4 separate regions of the Homo sapiens genome follow, and all the other regions are linked to region 1. The links are contacts of gene promoters, found by promoter capture Hi-C in human tissues and cell types (Jung and others, 2019). All regions are on one chromosome and are shown on one strand. Each heading gives the region's core, a stretch centred on a gene start or on the middle of the fragment in contact. The rest is flanking DNA. Distances are from core to core; before and after follow the strand shown. Region 1 holds the start of RPL13 (ribosomal protein L13). Region 2 holds the start of ACSF3 (acyl-CoA synthetase family member 3). Region 3 holds the start of CDH15 (cadherin 15). Region 4 overlaps ANKRD11 (ankyrin repeat domain containing 11).

Region 1 (5,641 bases), core at 3,142-5,641:
AAGGAGCAGGTAATTAACAACAACAACAACAAAAAATCTGGAAGAGTTCTGCCTTCACAGAAACCAGTGAAATGTGGCTGTGGCAGTGTTTTCTGTGGTCTGGCCAGGCCACCCCAGGGGCAGGTCCACCGGCACAGGACAGTCGGTGTCTCAAGTGTTTTCCAGGATCCCACCTAGAATGGCAGAAATTCACTTCCCCAACTTGAGAGGTCCCAGCTCACACAACTTCGCCTCAGATTCCTTCTCCCAGTGCTGCTCTCCTCAATCAGGAGGGTTCAGCATTTTACCCATCTCCTTCCCTGTAGACACACACGTCTTGTTTGGTGAAAGAAATTGCAGTTGCCAAAAATAAGCCAAGATTTTGAATAGAAGTAGAAAAATTAATGAGGCTGGCCGCCGGAAAATCATTTATGAGGTTGAGATGGGGGTGATTCTTCTTTCGGAGCTGCCTCCGTGCCTCCGCTTCCCTGGGAAAGTGGCCTGTCCTGGGTGTCCTGCACACAGACAGGCCCTCACGCCTCTTGCCACCTCCCCAGGACATAGAGATGCTCTGTCTGCCCTGGGGACTCACACACTGCTATGCCTGTTCTTTCTAGCTGGCAAACGCCCTTCTGGAAAAGGAAGTGATAAACTATGAGGACATTGAGGCTCTCATTGGCCCGCCGCCCCATGGGCCGAAGAAAATGATCGCACCGCAGAGGTGGATCGACGCCCAGAGGGAGAAACAGGACTTGGGCGAGGAGGAGACCGAAGAGACCCAGCAGCCTCCACTTGGAGGCGAAGAGCCGACTTGGCCCAAGTAGTTGGGAGGTGTTGGCTGCACGTGCGGGTGGTCCGGGAAGTGAGGGCTCACTCAGCCACCCTGAGTTGCTTTTCAGCTGAGGTTTGCACTTCCTCTCGCGGCCCTCAGTAGTCCCTGCACAGTGACTTCTGAGATCTGTTGATTGATGACCCTTTTCATGATTTTAAGTTTCTCTGCAGAAACTACTGACGGAGTCCTGTGTTTGTGAGTCGTTTCCCCTATGGGGAAGGTTATCAGTGCTTCCCGAGTGAGCATGGAACACTTCGAGTTCCCAGGGTTATAGACAGTCGTTCCCAGTGTGGCTGAGGCCACCCAGAGGCAGCAGAGCATTCAGACTCCAAACAGACCCCTGTTCATGCCGACGCTTGCACGACCGCCCCAGTTCCTGTGGCTCCCTCGGAATGCTAAGGGGATCGGACATGAAAGGACCCTGTGAGCCGATTGTCCTATCTCCAGCGGCCCTGTCATCCAGCTCACTCATCAATGGGGCCAGTCAGGCCCAGGCACTGGGCTCCGGAGGACTCACCACTGCCCCCTGCTGCCATGTGGACTGGTGCAAGTTGAGGACTTCTTGCTGGTCTAGTCACGCATGCAGTGTTGGGGATGCCTTGGTTTTTACTGCTCTGAGAATTGTTGAGATACTTTACTAATAAACTGTGTAGTTGGAAAATCTACATTTGCATTGTCTGGCCAGCTCTAATGCAGAGGAGCTGGTGGGCTTGCCCTGGATCACAGGGTCTTGTGGTTTCAGTTTATAATTTGAGTAATGCAGGGACTAAGTGAAAAACTCCTTCTGTAGGAATCTGGGGCCTGGACCCCGTAGGGATAGAAGACGACCCAGGACACCCTGGCCCTGAGTTCCGGGGCATGCGGCTCCCACTCCGGCCCCCTTGCTTCTGCCCTCCCTGTGGTGCAGTGACGTGAGTGGATTGTCCTCTTGTTGCTGCAACACTGAAACGCTGGCGGAGCAGTAAGGAGGCAGCCACAGGTGCAGTCACACACCCGAGGGTGGCATCTCTGAGAGATGCCTTGACCTTTGCCCCAGTTCTCCAAATCCAAAGACCAGCACATCGATGGGAGGGTTTTAGCTGGTGTAGCCAAGGGTAGTGTCCTCGGTAATTGTTTTTTTTTTGCTGTTGTGTTGGTTTTTGGCAGAGTCTTGCTCTGTCGCCCAGGCTAGAGTGCAGTGGCGCCATCTCGGCTCACTGCAGCCTCGATCTTCTGGGCTCAAGCAATCCTCCTGACTCAGCCTCCCAAGTAGCTGGGACCGCAGGCACGCACCATTATGCCCGACTAATTTTTGTACTTTTTGTAGAGACAGGGCTAGACTCGAATTTCTGAGTTCAAGTGATCCTCCTGCCTTGGCCTCCCAATGTGTTGGGATTACAGGTGTGAGCCACTGTGCCAAGCCTTTTGTGAAATTAATTTATTATTTTTTAATTATTATTTGTTTTTGGAGATGGAATCTTGCTCTGTAGTCCAGGCTGGAGTGCAGTGGCACGATCTTGGGTCAGTGCAACCTCCGCCTCCCGGGTTCACGCCATTCTCCTGCCTCAGCCTCCCAAGTAGGTGGGACCACAGGCGCCTGCCACCACGCCCGGCTAATTTTTTGTATTTTTAGTAGAGTCGGGGTTTCACCATGTTAGCCAGGATGGTCTCGATCTCCTGACCTCGTGATCTGCCTGCCTTGGGCTCCCAAAATGCTGGGATTACAGGTGTGAGCCAGCACGCCCAGCTCTTAAATTTTTCATTTTTGAGACGGAGGCTTAACTCTGTCACCCAGGCTGGAGTGCAGTGGTGCAGTCTCGACTCACTGTAACCTCTGCCTCCTGGGTTCAAGTGATTCCCCTGTCCTACTCTCTGGAGTAGCTAGGATTACAGGTGTACACAACCACACATGGCTAATTTTTGTATTTTTAGTAGAGGCGGGATTTTGCCATGTTGGCTAGGCCGGTCTCCAACTCCTGACCTCAGGTGATCCACCCGCCTCGGCCTCCCAAAGTGCTGGGATTTACAGGCATGAGCCACCGTGCCTGGCCTGTGAAATACTTTTTTTTCTTTTTGAGACTGAGTCTTGCTCTGTTGCCCAGGCTAGAGTGCAGTAATGTGATCTTGGCTCACTGCAACCTCTGCCTCCCCAGTTCAAGCAATTCTGGTGACTCAGCCTCCTAAGTAGCTAGGATTACAGGCATGCGCCACCACGCCCAGCTTTTTTGTATTTTTAGTAGAGACAGGGTTTCACCATCTTAGCCAGGGTGATCTCAAACTCTTGACCTCGGCTGATCCGCCCACCTCAGCCTCCCAAAGTGCTGGAACTGTGAAATTCTTAAAATGTGGATTACGTTGGCCAGGCACGGTGGCTCACGCCTGTAATCCCAGCACTTTGGGAGGCCCAGGCGGGCGGATCGCGAGGTCAGGAGATCGAGACCATCCTGGCTAACACAGTGAAACCCCGTCTGTACTAAAAATACAAAAAATCAGCTGGGCGTGATGGTGGGCGCCTGTAGTCCCAGCTACTTGGGAGGCAGAGGCAGGAGAATGGCGTGAACCCGGGAGGCAGAACTTGCAGTGAACAGAGATCGCACCACTGAACTCCAGCCTGGGCAACAGAGGGAGACTCCGTCTCAAAAAAAAAAAATAATAATAAGTTTTACCAGGAGGAAGCGTGGTGATTGGGTGAGGGTAGGGAAGAAAGAGGGTTATTGGGATTTAAAGGTTTCCAGGTAGCAGTAAGATGGATGGTGCCTTCACAGACTTATACTAGAGAAGAGATGGCTTTTTGTTGATGCTTTTCTTTGTGAAGGAAGGCAGTAGGCACAGCAGGTCAGAGTGTGACATTTTCAGTCGGGTACCCCTGACCTTAGAGAAGTCACCTAATCCTGGGCCAAGGGAAAGCGACAGAGGCCAACAGTAACTCCGTCTACTAAAATACCAAAAATTAGCAGGGTGTGGCGGCGGGCGCCTGTAATCCCAGCTACTCGGGAGGCTGAGGCAGAATTGCTTGAACCTGGGACGCGGAGGCTGCAGTGAGCCGAGATCGCGCCATTGCACTCCAGCCTGGGCGACGGAGCGAGACTCCGTCTCCAAAAAAAAAAAACAAAAAAAAAAACCACAAATGTTCTAAATGGATGGGAGGAGAATAAACGCTGGAACGACAAGGACGAAGGCCTTAGGTTGCGCAAACTCGGATGTCACTGAAGTTTTTCTGCCTTTGCGCTGCAAACGTGTCTCACAAATGTGAACAAACAGAATTCCTCGGGCGTCGCCCGTTCGCCGTCGGCCCAGATACCGGACTCGCGCGCGTTAGCCCGCAAGACAGGACTCGGCCGCGGCCCGCGCAGCGGCTGAAGCGCCGGGGCAGTAACGGCGGACGTCAAGCAAGTCCGGCCGTCGGTTACTCAGGGCCCAGGAATCACGGCCGCCCCGCCGCATTCTCAGCGGCAACATGTCTGCGACGGCGGCCCTAGGGCTGCCGGGAGAGCCGCGGCGACGTCAGTTCCTCCTTTCGGGGCTCTGATTGGTCAGAGCGCCCGGCGCTTCTGGTTGGCCGGCCCTGCTATCATCCCAGAGTGCATTGCGGGGCCGCTTCCTTTCCGCTCGGCTGTTTTCCTGCGCAGGAGGTGAGGGAGACTGGGTCCTGGCCTTTGGGCATCATCCAGCGCCATCGGCCTGGCGCTTCAGCCAACGCGGGAGTGGATGGGCCCCTTCTTCTTCGCAGACAGCGTTCGGCCGCTGCCCGGGCTCTAGGCGCGGCCGGACGGCCCAGTCTGGAGGGTTCGGGGCGGAGGCCCGGGGGGGTGCGCGCGCCCGGGGTCCGGCCTCTCACTCGCTCCCCTCTCGTCCGCAGCCGCAGGGCCGTAGGCAGCCATGGCGCCCAGCCGGAATGGCATGGTCTTGAAGCCCCACTTCCACAAGGACTGGCAGCGGCGCGTGGCCACGTGGTTCAACCAGCCGGCCCGTAAGATCCGCAGGTGAGCCCTGCGCTCGGGGCTGCCCCTGGGGCTCGTGCCCGCGGCTGCGCCTTGGCTTGCGGGTGGCCGATGCCAGGGCGGGGGGCGCTGTCTGCAACCGTCGCGGAGCGCTGGCCTGGCGGCCTTAGGCAAGGGTGACCGCCGCTGCGCTTCTCTCCACCAGACGTAAGGCCCGGCAAGCCAAGGCGCGCCGCATCGCCCCGCGCCCCGCGTCGGGTCCCATCCGGCCCATCGTGCGCTGCCCCACGGTTCGGTACCACACGAAGGTGCGCGCCGGCCGCGGCTTCAGCCTGGAGGAGCTCAGGGTGAGTACTGGCAGCGCTGCGGTGTCAGGAAGGCCCCGAAGTCCCCTCTGTTGGCCTCAGTCGCGTGATGACATTCTCCGGAATCGCTGTACGGCCTTGATGAAAGCACATTTGAACCCTTTTCCATCTGATTGCTGAGGCTTTTCATCCAGGCCTCGGGGCTGGAGAAAGCCCGGGCCTGTCTCCATCTCTCTCTGGTTCTGGGGCAGGTGGCCGGCATTCACAAGAAGGTGGCCCGGACCATCGGCATTTCTGTGGATCCGAGGAGGCGGAACAAGTCCACGGAGTCCCTGCAGGCCAACGTGCAGCGGCTGAAGGAGTACCGCTCCAAACTCATCCTCTTCCCCAGGAAGCCCTCGGCCCCCAAGAAGGGAGACAGTTCTGTGAGTACACGGCTCTCTGGCCGTCCTGGTGCGCGGGGACAGTGAGGCTTGGCTCCTTTATCAGTGACACCGGTCCCTGGGTCTTGCTGGGGTGAGAAGAACCAAAACATTGTGGGTGATGAGCTAAGCGGGACTGCTAAGGTTCACCTGTGCGTTTCCGCAGAGATAACCTTAATGGAC
Region 2 (5,981 bases), core at 2,156-4,655, 470 kb before region 1:
GGGTGTTCCGTGTCTGGTATTAGACAGTAGCAGCTGGTGGCACGATGATAAGGCTTGGCCCATGGAGAGTCATCTTGTTCCTCTCCATGACATGCACCTGCTGGAAGGCGACTTCCCGGAATCCTCTTGGTTTATTTAGGGAACAGGGGCAAGAATCCAGCTGAAAGTGGCCGAGTTCACGTGGTCACCTGGAGTGTTTCCTTTCCTCTTCCTCTAAAAACTATTTCATAGTGTAGTTTAACTTTTATACTTATCAGTTGTACGTCCACAAAGTTTAAAGAACTACCCTCCCCTTCCTGCTCACCAGAGGTGAACCTTTGTTCTGATTCTCTTGGTGTTTACCCCCTGGAGGTTCCTGTGGTCTCCTGCCAGGCCTGCCCAGGCCACACCACACACCTTCCACCCCGGGTCCCTCCCGTCGTCTGCGATAAACTCGTTCGATCAGCGGCAGTTTTGCATGCTGATGGTTACACTGTAGATGTTGAAATGATCGTAGTTTAGTAAATGCTATGGACAGCGGAGCCTCCTACAGCAACATGATCACGTGCCCTTTGCTGGCAAACACATCTTCCTGTGTTCCCAGTGTTTAATCTCTGCCTTATTTTTCTTGATTAGTTTTCTATGTATTGATCATCTATCCCTAAACTTTGCTTGCATTGTTCAAGTCTCCTCTCAACATGGTAAACACACAGGACACTCTGTCCACCATCTTCCCGCGGGGGGATTGCCCCTGCCTGCCAGGCCAGGACTCCCGGGAGTCACAGGAAACAAGGCCAGAGGGGAGGAGGGCGGGGCTCGGGGACCTGGTGGCCACAACAGGGCTTGGGCAGGACCCCCTGTGGGTTCTGAGCAGGATCCCACTCAGGTTTTAATGGGGCTACTCCAGCCACTGTTGGGTTCTTCATGAATCCAGTGAGGACTCCTTTAGGAAACAAGGCTTTCCTGGTCTGGGTGGTTACAGCAGCGCTGGTGGGACAGTCTCTGACAGAATTTGCAGGAGAAACCAGTAGGACTCAATGTGGTGTGGGAGGGAAGCAGGGAGCCATAGACTGAACCCCAGGATCGAGGGTGAGATGCAAAGTGTGAGGGTGGGGGCGCTGCTGCGGGGGAGACCTGAGCTCCTCTGGGGCCACATCGGGGTCTGATGTCTCTTGGATGTCCCAGTGAGATGCCAGGTGGGCACTTAGGACCCTCCCTGTCCACATGTTCTAAACTACATTGACGTCGTCTGCCTGGTTGGTGCGGCCACTTTCACTCCCTGCGCTGGATGTTCTGCAGCCCTTCGTCTGCTAATGTCCACGAGTTTACCTGACAGCTGACTTCTCTCTGTTTTCTCTGCCCTCCCTTCCTGAAACTACCGTATTTAGCATATTGGATGCCTGCCTGAGCCCACTGATTTTTTTATCTTTCCTCTCCTGTTTTTCATCTCTCGGTCTTTCTGTTCTATTTCTAGGAGACGTCCTTTAGCCCTTCCCTTAGGGTTTTTACTCAGGCTGTTGTATTCTGACCCCTCCAGCCCCCCTTTATGTTACTGGAACGCTCTTTCTCGGGGCATCTCGCTCTGGACTCATGGGGGCTGTCGCTTCCCTTGTCTCCCTGAGGGTATTAACAGGGGGTGGTTTTGGGGGTCTCTTCACTCTGCACAGCCTGGCTGCCTGCAGTTGTTCTGCTGGTTGTTTCAGCCCACGTCTCTCTGGCTAGAGGCTGTCCTCCAATGTCTGCTAATCCCTGACTGCTCCTGCTTCCCACCTGCCACTATGATGCTGACCAGAGCCGAGGCACAGATGGGACCCCTGCTCATAGGATGACTGGGCCATTTCTCGGAGACTGCACCCTCCCCCCACTGCCACCCTCACAGAGCCATGGCCAAGGACCACGGGAGCTGTCACCCTGTCCCAAGTCCTGTCTCTAGGTGGGTGACGCAGCCTGAGCTCTTCAACTTCCCAGGGATAGAAATTTGCGCACACACGTCCTGGGGCTGAATCCTGATGTTAGACGCCCTCCTTACTCTTCCTACTGCCCTCGTCGGAAACACCATTCAGCCTGCTGAGTCCTGGAAGCAGACAGAATTCTGACACCAGATCAAGCCTGTCCCAGTGGCAGAGGGTTGGACTTGCTTTTTCTGCATGATACCTAGCAGGGTGGCAACCAGAGGCACTAGAAGTTTGGGTTTGTTCTCCCACGCTCTGTGTTACAAACTTCCCCCAGATCCAGCTCCTTCCTCCCAGGAAAACCATCCTCGGGCTCCTGAAGTGCCCTTTCCTGAGCTTTCCAAGGACACAACTGCTGCCCCAGCAATCATCACAAGAGAGGAAGATGGGCATGGAAAATAATACACTTACAAAAAAACTGTGCAAGGTTCTGCAGATAATTTTTTTTTTTTTTTGAGACAGTCTCACTCTGCTGCCCAGGCTGGAGTGCAGTGGCGCAATCTCAGCTCACTGCAGTCGCCACCTCCCAGGCTCAAGAGATTCTCCTGCCTCAGCCTCCCGAGTAACTGGGATTACAGGCACCTGCCACCACTCCCGGCTAATTTTTGTATTTTTAGGAGAGACAGGGTTTCACCATGTTGGTCAGGCTGGTCTTGAACTCCTGACCTCGTGATCTGCCTACCTCGGCCTCCCAAAGTGCTGGGATTACAGGCGTGAGCCATCACACCAGGACGGTTCTGCAGATAATTTGTACTACTGTTTGCCAGTACATGTCTTTGTGTTATTAGTATTCATTTTAGGGGAAAAACCCTCAAATTTCAGCCAACTGGACTTTGTGTTTGGCTTTAAATGTTTTCCGCCACTGTCCATCCAACAGTCTCGCTTCATATTCGTATCCTGGTTCCCAAGTCCCTTCGAGGAGAGATTCTCAAATGCGGTCCGTTTAAAATCACCCAAGAAATACAAAAATTAGACAGGCATGATGGCGGGCGCCTGTAGTCCCAGCTAATTGGGAGGTTGAGGCAGGAGAATCACTTGAACCCGGGAGGCGGAGGTTGCGGTGAGCCGAGATCACACCACTGCACTCTAGTCTGGGCGACAGAGCGAGACTCCATCTCAAAATAATAATAATAATAAGAAAAAGTAACAACAATAATAATAATAATAAAATCACCCAGGAGCTCAGCGTGCAGACCCCCAGCCGCAAAGCCCAGAGAGCCCCTTTTGGGAGGACGGGGCGAGGCCCAGCAATCCGCGTTGGGAGTGGTCCCGCGCGCCGTTCTGATCTGGGCAGCCCTGGGCTAGCGGAGACCACGGCGCCTTGCCTCGGCCACGGCTCACGAGACGCCCGCGGCCCCGACCCCGCCACGACGGGACGGGCGGGACAGGGGAACACGCGCGCCCGGAACCCGCCGCCACGGCGCCGCGCCGGGGGGACGCGCTTGGGCGACGGACGCGCCGCGCCGGGGAAGCTGTTGGGCGCCGGAACTGGTCCGGCCCGACTCACGACCCCGCGGGACCCGGCCGGAACCCGGCCCGACCCCGGCGCGCGCGCGGCGGAGGACGAGGAAGAGTTGTGGCGAGGCAGATCCTGCCCCGTGGCCGCGGCCGTCTCGTAGGTGCGGGCGGCGGGGCCCACGGGACCGCGGCGGGGTCGGCCGGGCGCAGAGCTCTCGGGGGCGCGGGCTCCGGCGCCCGCCCCTGGGTCGCAGCTGGGCTTGAGCCGTGGCCCGTGGCGCGGTCGCTTCCCCGCGAGCCGCCTGGGGCCGGGCGTCGGCCTTCCCGGGACGCCGAGCCTCTCGTGTCCGGTGGGGAGCGGGGCCCCCGCGCGGGGTGCGGGGAGAGAAGCTGTGCGGACGCCGGGCCCGGTGATACCGTCGAGCCGGCGGGGTCCGTGTTCAGGCATCCTCAGAACGAATCGTCTTTGGTTGTGTTTGGAATAAATTCACTTCCATTTCTCATTGGGCTTCAGAAGTCACCCTTGAAGTACTCCCCGTTTTAGTTGTTTGCTGCGTGCACCTTGCTGGGCGCGTGGGGCACAGGTTCACAGCCGGCCTAGCCCCTGAGGGCATGTAGATCTATGAGCAAGCAATGGAGACGTGCGGCCGGCCGTGAAGTATTTGGAAGGTACTGCAGGCAGCCCATTCCCTGGAGAGAGGGAAGGTTTAAAGGGGTGAGGCCCGGTGCAGTCAGGAGTTGATGTTGCTGTCCTGAGTCTAAATTCCACCAGGCAGGCCAGGTGCAGTGGCTCATGCCTGTAATCCCAGCGCTTTGGGCAGCAGAGGCAGGAGGATCACTTGTGGCCAGGAGTTCAAAGCCAGCCTGGGCAACATGGTGAGACCCCTATCTCTACAAAAAAATGTAAAAATTAGCTGGGTGTGGTGGCGTACACCTGCACTTCCAGCTACTGGTTAGGCTGAGGCACGAGGATTTCTTGAGCCCAGGAATCGGAGGCTGCAGTGAGCCATGACAGCACCATTGCACTCCAGCCTAGGTGGCAGAGCAAGACACTGTCTCAATAAATAATAAAACTGAAAAAGAAGAGGTGATATTTGAACTGGGCTTGGAAGAATGATTAGGAATTTGCTAGAAAGGGAACACGTTTAGAGATAGGAACACGAATTGTGTCTGGGGCATAGTTGTTGCTTTCCCATCCTGGGAGGACAGACATTCGTGTTAGGGCCCAAGGCTGAGACCTTGTTGAGGAGGGGGTTCACATGGTGGACCCAGGAGCACGGGTGTTACTACCGGTGGACCCTGGGGACCCTGCGAGCTTTGTAGCGTGAAGCCTGGCTCAGGCTGGTGTCCTCTCCGCAGGTGTTGGAGGACATAAGATGAGGCTTCCCTTGCTCTTGCTCCTTTGGCTCTGAACCATCTCCTCAAGGCAGACAGAAATGGCGGATTAAACTGTGGGCTTGGGATAGTTGTAAGTGTCACCTTTCCAGATGGCATTTTTAAAATAGTATTTTTCTTCCTAAAATGGATATGGGTTTCAAGTGTATTTTTCCTTTTTGGTTTTTTTTATTTGAATGTACTGCTCATGAATGCAATGTGAATGTCTGTTACTTAAAAATGTAATTTTGAAAATAACCCTCCAAACCACAGGTGTGATGCTGAAACGCATCCTGCCCCGCAGGCCGAGCACAGCCCTCCTCTGCCCCACGCTCTCATCGGGGCAGCCGACAGGAGGAAGTGCCGGCATCCACTTCAAACACAAGGTCTGGGGGGGCGGGGGTGTCAGGTGTGGTGGTGAACAGGTCAGGTGTCGTTTTATTCATGTTGAAAGCAGCCCTTCATTTGAATGCGAGTGTCATTCTCATCTAGTAATTTTTGTTGCGAGGCTCCATGGGGAGCACCCTGCTGAGCACGGCGCGGCCGTTTGTCTTCTGCCTGGCCTGTGCCGGGCCATTCGTACATTCTCACGTGAAGCCTGTGAGGCAGGTCTTGTTACTGTGCCATCTTAGCGGTGGGAAGTGAAGGGCTAGGCCAGTGAGGAAATGAGGACAAAGGCAGCAGCCGTTCAAGTCGAAGCCTGTGGTGACTAACTCTGCCATTAACCAGCACTCCAGTTAGGAGGGAAAAGATGCATCCCGCTGCGCTGCATGTGTGTTCCCGAGAAGCCCCAGTGCCTTAGTGGTCTGATCTCAGAACCTGATGGCTAGAACACCGAGAGGTCCTGCCTCCCTCCCCGAGGGCTGGAGAGCCACTGTTTTCAGTGGTTCCAGTACGCCTTCACCAAGGAGGCTGTCCTGGCTCAGGCACCTTTCTCAGCTTCTGACTAGAGTCCTTGCCCAGCCACGTGGTGACGCCGCTGACCTCGGGTTATCAGGGTGCTGCGTAGCAGGGGTATGAAGCTGGCTGAGGGTGGAAGCCCCTGACTGAACTGCATTTGTCTGGTGGGCAGTGTCCCTCCACACTGTGCTCCTGGTGGTGATGGGGAGCCCCACGGTAGAAGGGGTCCCAGTGGTTGAAAGGTGAGGTTCTCTCTGAGGAAGCTGGGGTGCCTCTGGACCGGGAGGTGTGCAGGAAGACCGCGCACAGCCATCTGCC
Region 3 (5,981 bases), core at 1,737-4,236, 390 kb before region 1:
GCCCCCAGAGCCCCTGCCACAGGCACCCCAGCCTCAGGTCAGGTCTGGAATGGACACAGCCCCCAGACCAAGACCAGGGCCTCCTCACCCCGGGGTCCCCTCCCTTGGTGTCGGGTGTCACCCAAACTCCCTGGACGTCACCCTTCTGCCCTCCACGCCCCACACCCTGGGTAGGAGCCGCCTTCACAGCTGCTAACCCCTGCCCTCCAGCCCCCACTGCCTCTTCGGTAACGGGGCTGTGACTGGCCTAAGCCCTGGGCCTCCACAGGGCCCCTGTCCAGCCCACCTTGCTCAACCGCAGCGTTCCGCATCACGCCTGCCCCTTAGTGGTTGGGGTGTGCATGTATATTTATACACTGTAATTACATAAATACAATTTAATAATCAAGGGTCAAGTGCCGTTACTGCACTGTGCAATTACAGAATCACTCCAGAGCAGACACCATGGCATCTCAGCTGAAAACCGGCACCCGCCTGCATCTATCGTGAGAAAGTTGGAAATTCCTTAGCCCAGCCTCGACCACTGCCTGCGGTGTTGGGAGGAGTGGCCAAGGGCTGGGGGTGGGGGGACCTCTGGGACATCCAAGACTGCAAGGCTCCTGGGGGGTCCGGGACCCTGTTTGTTGTCCCCCCGTTCCTCATACTGGGGAGAGGAAATAGGATGGGAACTGAGGCTGTGGACCAGGGAGCCCCCTCTACATCTTGGCCGGCCCACCCCCACCTCATGCCCATGAGGTGCGTCCCCCGAGGTGGAGAGTTGAGGTGGGCAAGGCAGAGGGCAGGAGTGATGGGGGTGAGTCCCAAAGGCTCAGGACTGCAGACTCTGGAAAAAGGAGGAGAAGGCCCAGAGTGGGGTCCTAGCTGGAGGCTTGGGGTGCTGAGGGAGGGTCCGGCGTCTCCAGGTCCACCAGGAAAGGGAAGGGCTCTTCTAGGGCTGATGGTCCTGCAGCCGAAAATGTACCCCTGCCCCCACTGCACAGGACCTCCAGACTCAGGGTACCCAGCCCTTCCCTGCCACCTACCTCTGACACAAGGAGAAACTGAGGCACGGGGGAGAACCTCCAGCCCAAGGCTCCGAGCTGGGACTGGACCCAGGCTCCTGCCTCCTGACCTTCCTGCTGCCCTGGGAGCATGTGGAGCGGGGTCCCTCGCGGGGGCACCTGCCCCTGGGGGATAGCCCGCCAGCCAGGGAGCACACCCTCCCGCAGTGGTTAAGCCGGCTGCTTCCCTGGCCCCGCCCTGCATTTGGGGCTCACCCAGGACCTGGCCCAGCTTAGCCTTTCCCTTAGAGACCCCCACATCCCATGGAGGAGGGATTTGGCCTCCGTTTCTCCCCGAGGTGGGTGGGAGGCAGGTGGCTGAAGCGAGGTGGGTGCAGGGTGGAAGCGGAGAGGAGCTGGGGTTGGCAGACCGCAGCCTCCCCAGACCTCTTTCTGGGGGGAGGGCGAGCACTTCTACCTCACCCCTGCACTAGTCCCGTGAGGATGAAAACCAAAAGCACTCAGAGGGCTTCTCCACCCCTATTTTGAGGTCACTGACCACAGAGGCAGGATGGTGGTCCCCAACAGGCTACACCCCAGCCCCAGAGGCCTCCCAGTCTGGAGATGGACTCCCTGCCCTCTCTCATCTTGGAGCAGTGAGCGCTAGGGACAGTCCTGGCCTGAGCCTCCCGGGCAGCCTGGCCTCCTTTCAAGCAGGCCAAGTGCACAGATGCTGCCTGCACCTGCACAGCCACCCGCCGTCGACAGGAGAGCAGAGGTACCGGGTCTGCTCCCATCACAGAGAGGAACGGGCTCCCCGGCCCGGCCCTGGGCTGGTCGGCAACCCCCACTCCCCACCCTGCCTGCTCAAAAGAAAGGATCCTCCTGCCTCCAGCCCCCTCCACCCCCTCTCCAGGACCTTCCTGACCGTGCGCTGGGCCTGTGCAGGTGTTGAGCCACACCCACACCATCCCAGGGGGCGGGGTCTCGAAGGGGAGAACAGGTGCCACAGTCAACAGGAGGGAGGGCTTCTGGCCGAGGTGGCAAGGAGGCTCCAGGAGGCGGCAGCGTTGACCTTGGGTGTTGAGGGATGATGAGAAGGAGTTCTGTAGGAAGGAAGGTGCTCCAGGCAGGGGGCCTCGGGGAACAAGGGGATGCTGGAGGAGGTGCGTGGACTGGGGGAATTGGGGGTGTCCTACGAGCCACGCTGGTATCAGAGGCGTGTGAACCAGAGCAGTTCCATACTGAATAAGAGCTGGGCAAAATGAGGTCGCGAGGAGGTGCGTGGAAGGCGGGCCTAGCGTTCAGTGGGATGCGGGGAGGCGCAGGAGACGCAGCCAGAGAGGCGAGGGGCCCAAGGAAGTGCTCAAGAGGTGTCCCCCGGCAGGGACTACAATGCAGATTCCCTGGAGCAGGGGCGAGCCGGGCCCAAGGAGCAGGAAATGAAGAAGCCAGGAATCCCAGCTGGTCCCTGACCCGGACGCACCCACCCTGCCTTCCCCACAGCCTGGCCTCTGGCTCTGCTCCCAACGCAGCAAGCCGGGGTATCTCCGACCTAGCCCTGGCCCTGCCCGCCGGAACCCCGCAAAAGCTATCACTCAGCCCTCGGCCCCGCCCCGGCCCCACCCCGGCCCCACCCCGCACTCTCACAAGGTGTCACTCAGCCCTCGGCCCCGCCCCGCCCGCCCCATCCTCCTCTGGCTCCGCCCCACCAGCCTCGTGCGGTCACCGCCCCGCCGGCGCACCTGCGCTGTCACTCAGCCCTCGGCCCCGGCCCCGCCCCGCCTGCCCCACTCGCACACGGGCTATCACTCAGCCTGCGCCCCGCCCTAGCTCGCCAGAGGCTCCGCCCCACCCGCCTGCCAACACGCTGTCACTCAGCCTTAGCCCTGCCCAGGCCGGCCCTCGGCCCGTCAGAGGCCTCCTTCGTGCTGTCACTCAGCCCTTGCCCCGCCCCCTCCCCGCCCCCCTCACACGTGCTGTCTCTGTCTCTGGCCCTGGCCCGCCCCGCGCACTTGCGCTGTCACTCAGCCTGGACGCGCTTCTTCGGGTCGCGGGTGCACTCCGGCCCGGCTCCCGCCTCGGCCCCGATGGACGCCGCGTTCCTCCTCGTCCTCGGGCTGTTGGCCCAGGTAAGGCATCGGCACCTGCGGGGGTCCCCGCTGCCTCCCTCGACGCTGCGGGACAGTGTCTTCAACTGCAGCCGCACAGGTCTCCCCCAGAACCACTGGCCCTGGTCGCCTTTGGGGGCCTGTGAGCGGAGTGGCTCCGGGTGGGTCCCTGGGCTGGGGGCAGCACCCCAGGGGTTGTGGGGAGTGAGTGTAACCAAACACTCCATCTGGTGGAATCACCCCCAGGACTGCAGAGTGCTGCTGGGGTCAGGGACCCCAGGCAGGGGCCACCCAGGTAGCCGTGCCCTCTCTTTGGAGGAACCGCTGCCGGGGTCTGGGGGTTGCCAGTCTTGAGTGGAGCAGAGAGAGGGGGGAGCGGCAGGAGTGCCCCTCTCTGGGGGGCTGGGGGCCAGGTTTCTATAGGGACTCCCTGCGGTGGGCACAGGACCCCTGGCTAGTCTTGGGTTTTGTCCAAACCCCCCACCCCAAGTTCCTGGCCAGCAGGGGTGGCTGCAGGCCCTGCCCCCAGGAACTCACCCTCACGGCTACTTCTCGATTGGGAGGGCCCAGCCCGAGCCAGGTCGCAACACACGGCCTTGCAGAGTGGCGTGTGGCAGCCCTGGGGGCTCTGTTCCTGGGCTTCACCTGGGACCCTGCCGCAGCTGCCTGGGGTGATCAGGCCTGGGGGCCCAGCCCCCAGAGGCTGCTGGACTCTGCCCCTAAAAATCTTGTCTGGACTGCTGGCACCGTGGTCTCTCCAACGTGGGAGCAAGCCAGAGTGGAAGGAAGCCCAGGCCTCAGCCCCCCACACCCGACATGGGTACTGCCTAGCTGGAGCCACGTCTCCTCACACCCTAGGGGGACCTAGACATGGAGGATGTGGCCTCAGTGGCTTCAGCCCCCAGGGACTGGGCTGGGCTGGGGCATGGCCGGCTGTGGTTGGGACGTCACTGGGTACAAGAGGGCAGCCTCTCTCTGGCCAATTCGAGAGAGAATGCACATAAAGGGCTTAGCGGTGCTCACAGTATTCATTGCTCTTGTGGTCCTGGGGTGGTCAGGGAGTGCTGGACACAGTGAGTAAGGGAAGCCACTCCTTTCCCAGCCCCCACTGAAGGGGCTTCCTGAGTCCCCTCATTCCCACAGGCCTCCCAGCTCCAGCTGGCTCCAATTTCAGCCCCTGGCAGCTGACCAGGCGCCTGGCCAGCCAGACCCTCCAGCAGCTGCCCCTGAGGGCACCACGGCTCCTGCCACCCCCGACTCCCCCATCTGGAGACAGTGGTGGGGGGAGACAGTGGCTCAGCATGCGTGCTCACCCCCCGGCCCTCCACCCCTCAGCCCTCTGCCGGGGAGCGCAGGCTGGGGGGCTCCATGCCTCCAGGGCCCTTCCCCACCTGCTCTGGGGACAGGGTTTCTTCCCTGGCACCCCAACCCAGGGCATGGTGGTGGGGAGGCTGGCGCCTGTGAAAACATTCCTCCAGACCTCTTCCTTTGGATTTGGGAGTGTCTGCCTTTCAAAAGGCCCCAGGGGGCTCTGTGGCAGGTGGGGAGGCAGGCAGGACCTCTCCCTCCTCAGAAGCCTTCCCTCTCACTGTCCCTTCTTTTCTCGCCCAGGGCTGGGGGACAATAACCCCCTCCCCCGACAGCTGGAGGCTGGGGGAGGTGGTGGAGGTGGGGGCCAGATGGCAAGGGGACTATCGCCAAGGCTCAAATTCACTCCACTGTGAGGCAAAATATGTCAGTGTCAGGACCCTGCCTGCCCCTCCCCCAGCAGCTCAGCTTTCAGGACTGTGAGCTCTCCTGGGCAGCCTTGGGGTCCTGGGCCGCCTCCTGGTGAGCCCCCAGGCAGGCAGCGTGGGCCCATCAGGGCCTTCTACAAGTGAGGGGTTGCTCCCCTGCTCGGGCCACCTCTGATTGCTGAGCTCACTCAGCCCCACCCGGAGGGTGTCTTCAGAACTGGCCCCTCTCAGCCCTGCTGCACCTACACCATCCCTAGTTGCTGGTTCTACACCTGGGACCCCACCCCAGCTGGGAGGCGGCTGAGGTCTGGGGCAGCACACTTGACTCACAGAGAACCCCAGCCTGCTGGGAAGGTCCCCACTTCTGCATCTGGGTTTTGGGAGCCCCTTGGTCTCTGGGAGACAGTCAGCAGCACCCTGGGGGCCAGGCAGGGGCTCTTAGCTCGGGTGACTGTGACCAAGGCCAAGAAGGGAAGTGGCTCCCAGGCCACTGTTCTTCCCACAGTGGAAGGACAGCCCCAGACACCGTGCTTTGGAGGGGACAGCTGCCTCCATGCCTCTTCTTCCACATCCCTTCTCTGAAGCCCGCAGCAGCTAGAGAGGGTGGGGCCCAGGGAAGATGCTCCAGCCGCTCTGGGCCAGGCCAACAGCTGGGGCCATTCCTGGCATGCCTGGCCATCCAGGAACGGGGTGGCCCCAGATTCCAGCCTGGGGGAGGGGTTGAAGCCTGAGAAGCTTGAGGGGCCTTCGCACTCTCTTCCCAGGCAAACCCACCCACACGCCACCAAGCGTGTTCCTAGAATCTCGTAGCACCCTTCCTTGGAAAACCGGGGGAGCAGGAGTGCAAGGTCGGCCCCAGAACCGCTCCTCGTTCCCGTCTCGCAGTGGTGTTCGTAAACCCCATTCCCACCTCGCAGTGGTGTTTGTAGACTGCAGCAAGCGCCCAGTGTGTGCAGAGCTTTCTTACACAGCAGCCCCTTGGGGTTGAGTGTCAGGCTAGGAGCAGACCTCAAGAGAGGCGTTAAGTCCCAGGAGCTTGGCTGCAGGGCGGTGGCCCCAGACGTCTCAAGGGCTTCGAGGTGGTTCCCTCCAGGCTCTTGGCTAAGGGTCCAGTCGAGGATGAGCTTGGGGGTGTCATTGGGGACCCCCTGTGG
Region 4 (5,981 bases), core at 1-2,500, 270 kb before region 1:
GCCTGGAAACAGACACTCAGGACGTACGTTATTTAATCCTCAGAACTTCCCTCCTGTCTCTGGAGGCAGCGCCCTGAGGATGTGCTACAGTGCGGGGACAAGCCAGGTGGGGAGCTGCCCTGTAGTGAGGGCTGCAGTTTAGGGAAGCAGGTGCTGGCCCAGAGAACCCCTAAATTCTCTTTACTGTGGCACCTCGTTAGCACGATCCATATCTAGCTTATTAACCCTACGGACTGACAACCTGCAGGGCTAATCTGCGGCAATCACCCTAAAAGGGTAGGAAATCAGTGAACACACAGTGTAGTAAACAGCAGCCTCATCCTCACCGATCTGGAGGCGTATGTGCCTTTGCAAAACACGGAGGGGAAACCTCCCGTGTCGGAAACGGAAACCAAGGCTGAGAGCCTCCTGAAGGCTGAAGAGCTGCTACAGCAGGAGCTCCAGGGGCGCCCAGGCTCGGGCTGCACGACGAAGGCCACCCCGGGCAGGCAGCTCCTGGCTGGGGAGCTTGGAGTCCACCATCGGACGGTGTGGCCGCACGCATCCGTGGAAACAGAGCTCGGCCCCACGGAAGCACACGGCACTGCTCTAGAGAAGTTTCTTTTAGAAAAATGCTTTAAAAAAAAAAGGTGCTAAATTAGGTTTGGGTCAGACAGCTATAAACCAGGGCAGTTGGAGAAATCTAGAAGGATTCTACACACACGATTTTGCTCATCTGTTCCCCTTACACTGTGGACAGACAGTCCTGGGATATGTGGACCACTCATGGTTTGATGGGGGTATTTTATGTAAAGAAAGGGAATATTAAACTCTAATCATGGAGCTCTTAAGCCCCTGGGCCGTATCAGGTCTGGGGAGGCTCGCTCAGTTCTCTCCGGGTCCCAGGCAAGCCCCAGGACCCAGCCCTGTGAAGTGAGGGAGTCCAGTCCAGGGTGTCGACCCAGCCGGCCTCCCGGCTCAGAGGTGCCCTCTGCTGGAGAATGCAGCCATGTGCTAGACACACCAGGGACAGGTCCCTCCAGGGGCCTGGAGTGAGGTTTATGGAACACAGCAGAGTAAAATTTAAAATTCCTCAGTTCTCTTACAGATAGGCCAGGCATGGGGGCTCACAGCTATAATCCCAGCACTTTGGGAAGCCAAGGCGTGAGGACTGCTTGAGGCCATGAGTTCAAACCAGCCTGGGCAACTTAGTAAGACCCCGTCTCTACAAAAAATAAAAAAATTAGCCAGGCATGGTGGCGTGCGCCTGCACCCGGAAGGCTGAGTTGGGAACATCGCTTGAGCCCAGGAGTTCAAAGCTTCAGTGAGTCGTGATCACGCCACTGCACTCCAGCCTGAGCAACAGAGCGAGACCCTATCTAAAAATAAAAATAACAATAAAACCCAGCAAACAAGTTTACTTTGAAATACTTTCCAAGAAACACTGATTTCTTCTCAGCAACAGGGAACCCCACTGGAGTGAGTGTGGCTGTGAACACCCCGAGCCCTGCAGAGCAGACGCGCACCCCACGAGGCCACAGCCCATCCAACCCGATGGGAGGCTCACGGCTCCAATGGGGGAGGCTCAGGGCTCCAGCGGGGGGTAGGCTCAGGGCTCCAATGGGGGTAGGCTCAGGGCTCCAGCCGGGGGAGGCTCAGGGCTCCAATGGGGGGAGGCTCAGGGCTCCAGCGGGGGAGGCTCAGGGCTCCAATGGGGGGAGGCTCAGGGCTCCAGCGGGGGAGGCTCAGGGCTCCAATTGGGGGAGGCTCAGGGCTCCAATGGGGGGAGGCTCAGGGCTCCAATGGGGTGAGGCTCAGGGCTCCAGCGGGGGAGGCTCAGGGCTCCAATGGGGGGAGGCTCAGGGCTCCAATGGGGGGAGGCTCAGGGCTCCAATGGGGGGAGGCTCAGGACTCCACTGGGGGAGGCTCAGGGCTCCAGTGGGGCTCTCTGGCCCTTGCCAGGCACAGGGTGCCCACCTGCGAAGTCCTTGACGTTGACGTCTGCCCCCTCGCTGATGAGCTCTTTGATGCGCCGGGCGTCCCCGCGGATGGCGGCTCGGTGCAGGCGGGTCTCTCCACGCTCGTTTCTCTTGTTCACTTTATCTTTGGTTTTTGAGGCAGAGTTGGGCGTTCCCTTCTGACACACTGTAGACTGGGAGGGGTGCTTTGGTGTTGTGTCCACTGCAGGCCAAGGAGGGGACAGATGGGCATTACTGTGGGGTGGTCCTGCTTTGTCCAATCTTCAAGAGCCCAGGCCACCATCACGAGGTCCCTTTGCACAGGGCTTGTCCTCAGCACAGCCATGAGGCTGCGACCAGGCAGAGCCCCTTCCCTGCGCCAGGGACCACCCACAGGCCGGGCTCACCTGGGCTGTTGGCAGACTCCTCGGCCGTCATCTGCATGAGAAGGGCCACCTGCTGGCGCTCGGAGAGGGGGTAGCCGGCTCGGATTCCAGACAGCCCCATGCCAAACAGCAGCCCGGCCTTCCGGGTGACAGGCTCCTTCTTAATCCTCTTCCGCTCAGGGCCCTGCTTCTCTGTGAGGCGGGCGAGGGAGAGAGGGAGGAGAGATTTCATGCCATGGTGTCCTCCAAAGCTAGGTCCTTACCTAATGTTACGGAGCCCCCTGCGTCCACCTGACAGCTGACAGAGCAGAAAGGAAGGTCTGTGTATGGGGAAAGCACAGCGGTGCTGGGAGCATTGGTGCCGCCCACCTCACCTCTCAGCAGTGACTGTGAGACCATTTAAACACCTCGTTACCAGCCCCTCAAGTCTGCTAAGCCTGGGCCTCCACCGAGCATCCACTCACTCCAGGCACCTCTCCTGGGCCTCCCCAGACCTCGTACCACACATGAATGCGGTGGGACAGCTTAGCACCGGTGACCTGGCTCACACAGGACAGGTCTCTGTTCAATACACGTGTCTGTAATTCAATTCCACCTTCCCCGTCCCTCCTCCAAACAGTGCAGATATAAAATGGCAGACACAGTTTAAAACACATCAGTAAATCAAGGCCAACTGGTCAGTACTGTACCTTTCTTCTTGCTTCTAGGAACCTCCATCTCATGCCATGGTGCTTCGAGGAGCGTACCAGCCTTGCAGCACCACAACAGGGACTGGGCTGGAGGCATCTGAAGGCATCAACACAGAGCACTAACAAGACACGGTGTGAGAGCTCGGCTGTTTCCACCTCAGCCTCCTCGTAACAAGCACACCCTGCACTCATCTGACCCGTTACAGAACACTCGGCTGGCGTCTAACGCAACTCACGTGCTGTGTCTTTTAAAAGAGGCAGGAGGCAGGGGCGGGGAAGAGAAGACCCCAAGCACCAAGAGTCGGGGGCACAGAAGATGCCTCCTCCTCTGCCTGACCAGTGCCCTCCTGTGGATGGAAATCAGGGGCCAGACACCTCTGAATCCTCCTCCAGCTGCCCTGCGGGTTCTGGGGTTTTCTAGGTCATGGGGTGAAACTGCAGAGGTGCAGCGCAGAGGCAAGGCTCTGCCAAGGCCTGACTCGGGGAAGAAGGGCCACCAGGAAGACGTGGGCCTCTGAAGCTCTCCTCTGAGGCACCTCCCTTCCCTTCCATTCAGCACTCCCAAGAAGCCTCTCTTCAGGACTTCTCCCTCGGCTGGTGTTTGATCCTACAGAGGTGGGAGACATCTCTAACAACGGACTAACTGGATCCCACACCTGCCCGGTCACTGGAACACAGAACGGTCTTAACTAGTCTCTCAGCTCAGCTCCCAGGGCCCGACTCTCTTGCTGTTCACCACCATGGTCCCCGTGAATGTGCCCGTCGATTTCCTAAGAGGACGCTGCCCACCCACTCTAGTTCTTTCCAAGGTATCTGAGGCTGATTTCTTAGGAATTCGGTCTGGGGCATGCTGAGAATGTGGATTCGTATGTCCTATGGGACAAGCCTGCAGGAAGGCACACACCTGGCCACATCGACCTGCGTCACACTCATGGGCAAAACCCCAAGTACTGCAGGCTGCCATCGCCACCACCAGCTAGTCTGTAAACAGTCCTCAACGCACAGATCTGAGAAAGCACTTGAGCTTTGGCCCCAGCCCCTCATAGAACCTGGCAAACACGGTGGTTGGGGAGGCAGCCTCGCCACCGGCCAATGAGCCCCAGCCTACAGCCATCATTGGCGTAGCCACACCTTAGCAGTGAGCTTGGGTCACAGGCGCTTGGCTGTGGGTCTCTGCGTGCGCCCCATGCTTTCCCTGCACCCTCCATGCTGCCCGGGGGCCGGCCCTCCCCAGGCTTGCTTCTCATAGCCACCTCTAAACAACAGAAGCAGGCCTGCGGCTGCCTCCCTCTAGGAAAGAGGCGACGAAGCTGCTGGAGAAACCCCAGCTCCCCCACCGATAGCCCTCAAGTCCTCCTCTCTCCAGGAGGGGCCCACACTCACCGAGCAGCTGGTCTGCCCACAGTCGCCTGGAGAAGCAGCTGAGAACCTCTGCAGGGCCCTGATCCCCAAGACCTAGCCACGCACATTCAGAGGCCTGCTCCCTCCGTCACCCAGAGCAGGGGGGTTAATGTTTTGGAGACACGAAGCCCCCTGAGAACACGAGGAAAGCAGAATCCCCGAGATACACAGACTTTGCAAAGCTGCACACAGCACAGGAGACTCCTGGGAGCAGACGGCATCTCCTTATTCCATTGACCATCAGAAGTGAAAAGCGAGTGGGCCCCACTTCTGTGCTGCATGTGGCCACTAGGGGTGGACACAGGGAGGAGCTGGGGCAGAGTTGGGGTTGCGGAGGGAGGAGCTGGGGCAGAGTTGGGGTTGCGGAGGGAGGAGCTGGGGCAGAGTTGTGGCTGCGGAGGGAGGAGCTGGGGCAGAGTTGGGGCTGCAGAGCGAGGAGGCGGGGTGGTGTTGGGGCTGCGGAGGGAGGAGCTGGGGCGGTATTGGGGCTGCGGAGGGAGGAGCTGGGGCAGAGTTGGGGCTGCGGAGGGAGGAGCTGGGGCGGTGTTGGGGCTGCGGAGGGGAGGAGGCGGGGTGGTATTGGGGCTGCAGAGGGAGGAGCTGGGGCAGAGTTGGGGCTGCGGAGGGAGGAGCTGGGGCAGAGGTGGGGCTGCGGAGGGAGGAGCTGGGGCGGTGTTGGGAGGAGCTGGGGCGGTGTTGGGGCTGCAGTATGTTTACATCCCGAAGTGCAGGCGTTGCCATGCTCTTAAGTTATCAAAGGACCCTAGGAGGCGTGTGTCAGAGGAACAGGCAGAGGCAAAGGCGTTCCTTAGAAGTCAGTCTTTAGGCTGGCAGGCCAGGAGCCCACGCTGCGTCCCCGCTCTGAGGGGCAGCAAAGAGCTGCTTTGTGGCAAACAGAACATGTCCCACTCCTGCAGGGCGGCCATCTCAGGTGCAGCTCACACCCAACATGTGCAGAATGGGCAGGACTCGGTGCCCCCAGAGACTTCCTGGGTGGGCTCCAGGGCCTGAGCCTCAGGGTCAGGGCCACATCCCTCCCGCTCCCCACCAGGCCCTCCCTCTGCTTCTGCTCTGAGCTTTGGTGAAGAAAGCCTGAGTTGGCTTCCCTTACGCGGCCAGGACAGCTTTACAGGGCTGGCTCCCAGCAATTCGCATGGAAGGTGCTGCCAACCTCCTGGTGAATTCTGGTGCCTGGAGCCACCACAGGGACCTTGCTCTGCCCCACACTCAGGAAAAGCTTGCTCCCAGGAAGCAGCAACTTTTCACCCAGCTCTCCCTGTCCTGAAACAGGACTTTTTACTTGTCCTGACACCAAAAAAGTCCAATATGAAACCAGATCTCCCAGGATGCCAATCTCTCCACTGTGAAACAAGCACCTGCAGCTACGAGCATCTACAACGCCCACAACACGCGCCAGACACCACCCAAGCTCCGGAGCCCAGCAAACTTGCACGTCTGTCAGCTCTGAGACACTGGCCACTCCAGTGGCTTCTGGGGTAGAGGGAAAGCCCCACCCACGGAGCGAGACCCCCATGTGCCACAGCCCATGGCTCAACAATGCCTGCTCT

The links. The method cuts DNA at HindIII sites, captures the fragments that hold promoters and counts their contacts. A contact is called where the count stands out against the background at its distance.
Region 2: a contact is called between the fragment with the promoter of ACSF3 here and the fragment with the promoter of RPL13 in region 1, in 1 of the 25 tissues and cell types used here (spleen).
Region 3: a contact is called between the fragment with the promoter of CDH15 here and the fragment with the promoter of RPL13 in region 1, in 1 of the 25 tissues and cell types used here (liver).
Region 4: a contact is called between a fragment that was not itself captured here and the fragment with the promoter of RPL13 in region 1, in 13 of the 25 tissues and cell types used here (IMR-90 fibroblasts, adrenal gland, dorsolateral prefrontal cortex and 10 more).

What each region holds. Positions count from the first base shown.
Region 1 is chr16:89,556,291-89,561,931 of GRCh38, forward strand. It overlaps RPL13 (ribosomal protein L13), which reads left to right and starts at 4,392. Exons shown (of 6, transcript NM_000977.4): 1 at 4,392-4,422; 2 at 4,650-4,773; 3 at 4,937-5,078; 4 at 5,288-5,461. The coding sequence starts at 4,670. It overlaps SNORD68 (small nucleolar RNA, C/D box 68), which reads left to right and starts at 5,140; the gene lies at 5,140-5,211. SPG7 (SPG7 matrix AAA peptidase subunit, paraplegin) reads left to right here. Exons shown (of 17, transcript NM_003119.4): 17 at 597-1,476. The coding sequence ends at 803. RefSeq lists silencers at 2,834-3,053, 4,595-4,864, 4,925-4,974 and an enhancer at 4,375-4,484. The HindIII fragment of the contact is 11,945 bases long and covers 1-5,641 here.
Region 2 is chr16:89,090,447-89,096,427 of GRCh38, forward strand. It overlaps ACSF3 (acyl-CoA synthetase family member 3), which reads left to right and starts at 3,406. Exons shown (of 11, transcript NM_001243279.3): 1 at 3,406-3,550. RefSeq lists a silencer at 3,170-3,579 and enhancers at 4,000-4,189, 5,409-5,578. The HindIII fragment of the contact is 24,302 bases long and covers 1-5,981 here.
Region 3 is chr16:89,168,762-89,174,742 of GRCh38, forward strand. It overlaps CDH15 (cadherin 15), which reads left to right and starts at 2,987. Exons shown (of 14, transcript NM_004933.3): 1 at 2,987-3,112. The coding sequence starts at 3,071. It overlaps LINC02138 (long intergenic non-protein coding RNA 2138), which reads left to right. Exons shown (of 3, transcript NR_046200.1): 3 at 1-386. RefSeq lists a silencer at 2,423-3,062. The HindIII fragment of the contact is 6,474 bases long and covers 904-5,981 here.
Region 4 is chr16:89,288,669-89,294,649 of GRCh38, forward strand. ANKRD11 (ankyrin repeat domain containing 11) reads right to left here. Exons shown (of 13, transcript NM_013275.6): 5 at 2,345-2,515; 6 at 1,957-2,160; 7 at 1-2. Among named protein-coding and RNA genes, the nearest start is that of ZNF778, 74 kb to the left of the region's middle. RefSeq lists enhancers at 2,495-3,341, 5,035-5,880, 5,881-5,981. The HindIII fragment of the contact is 4,448 bases long and covers 1-3,474 here.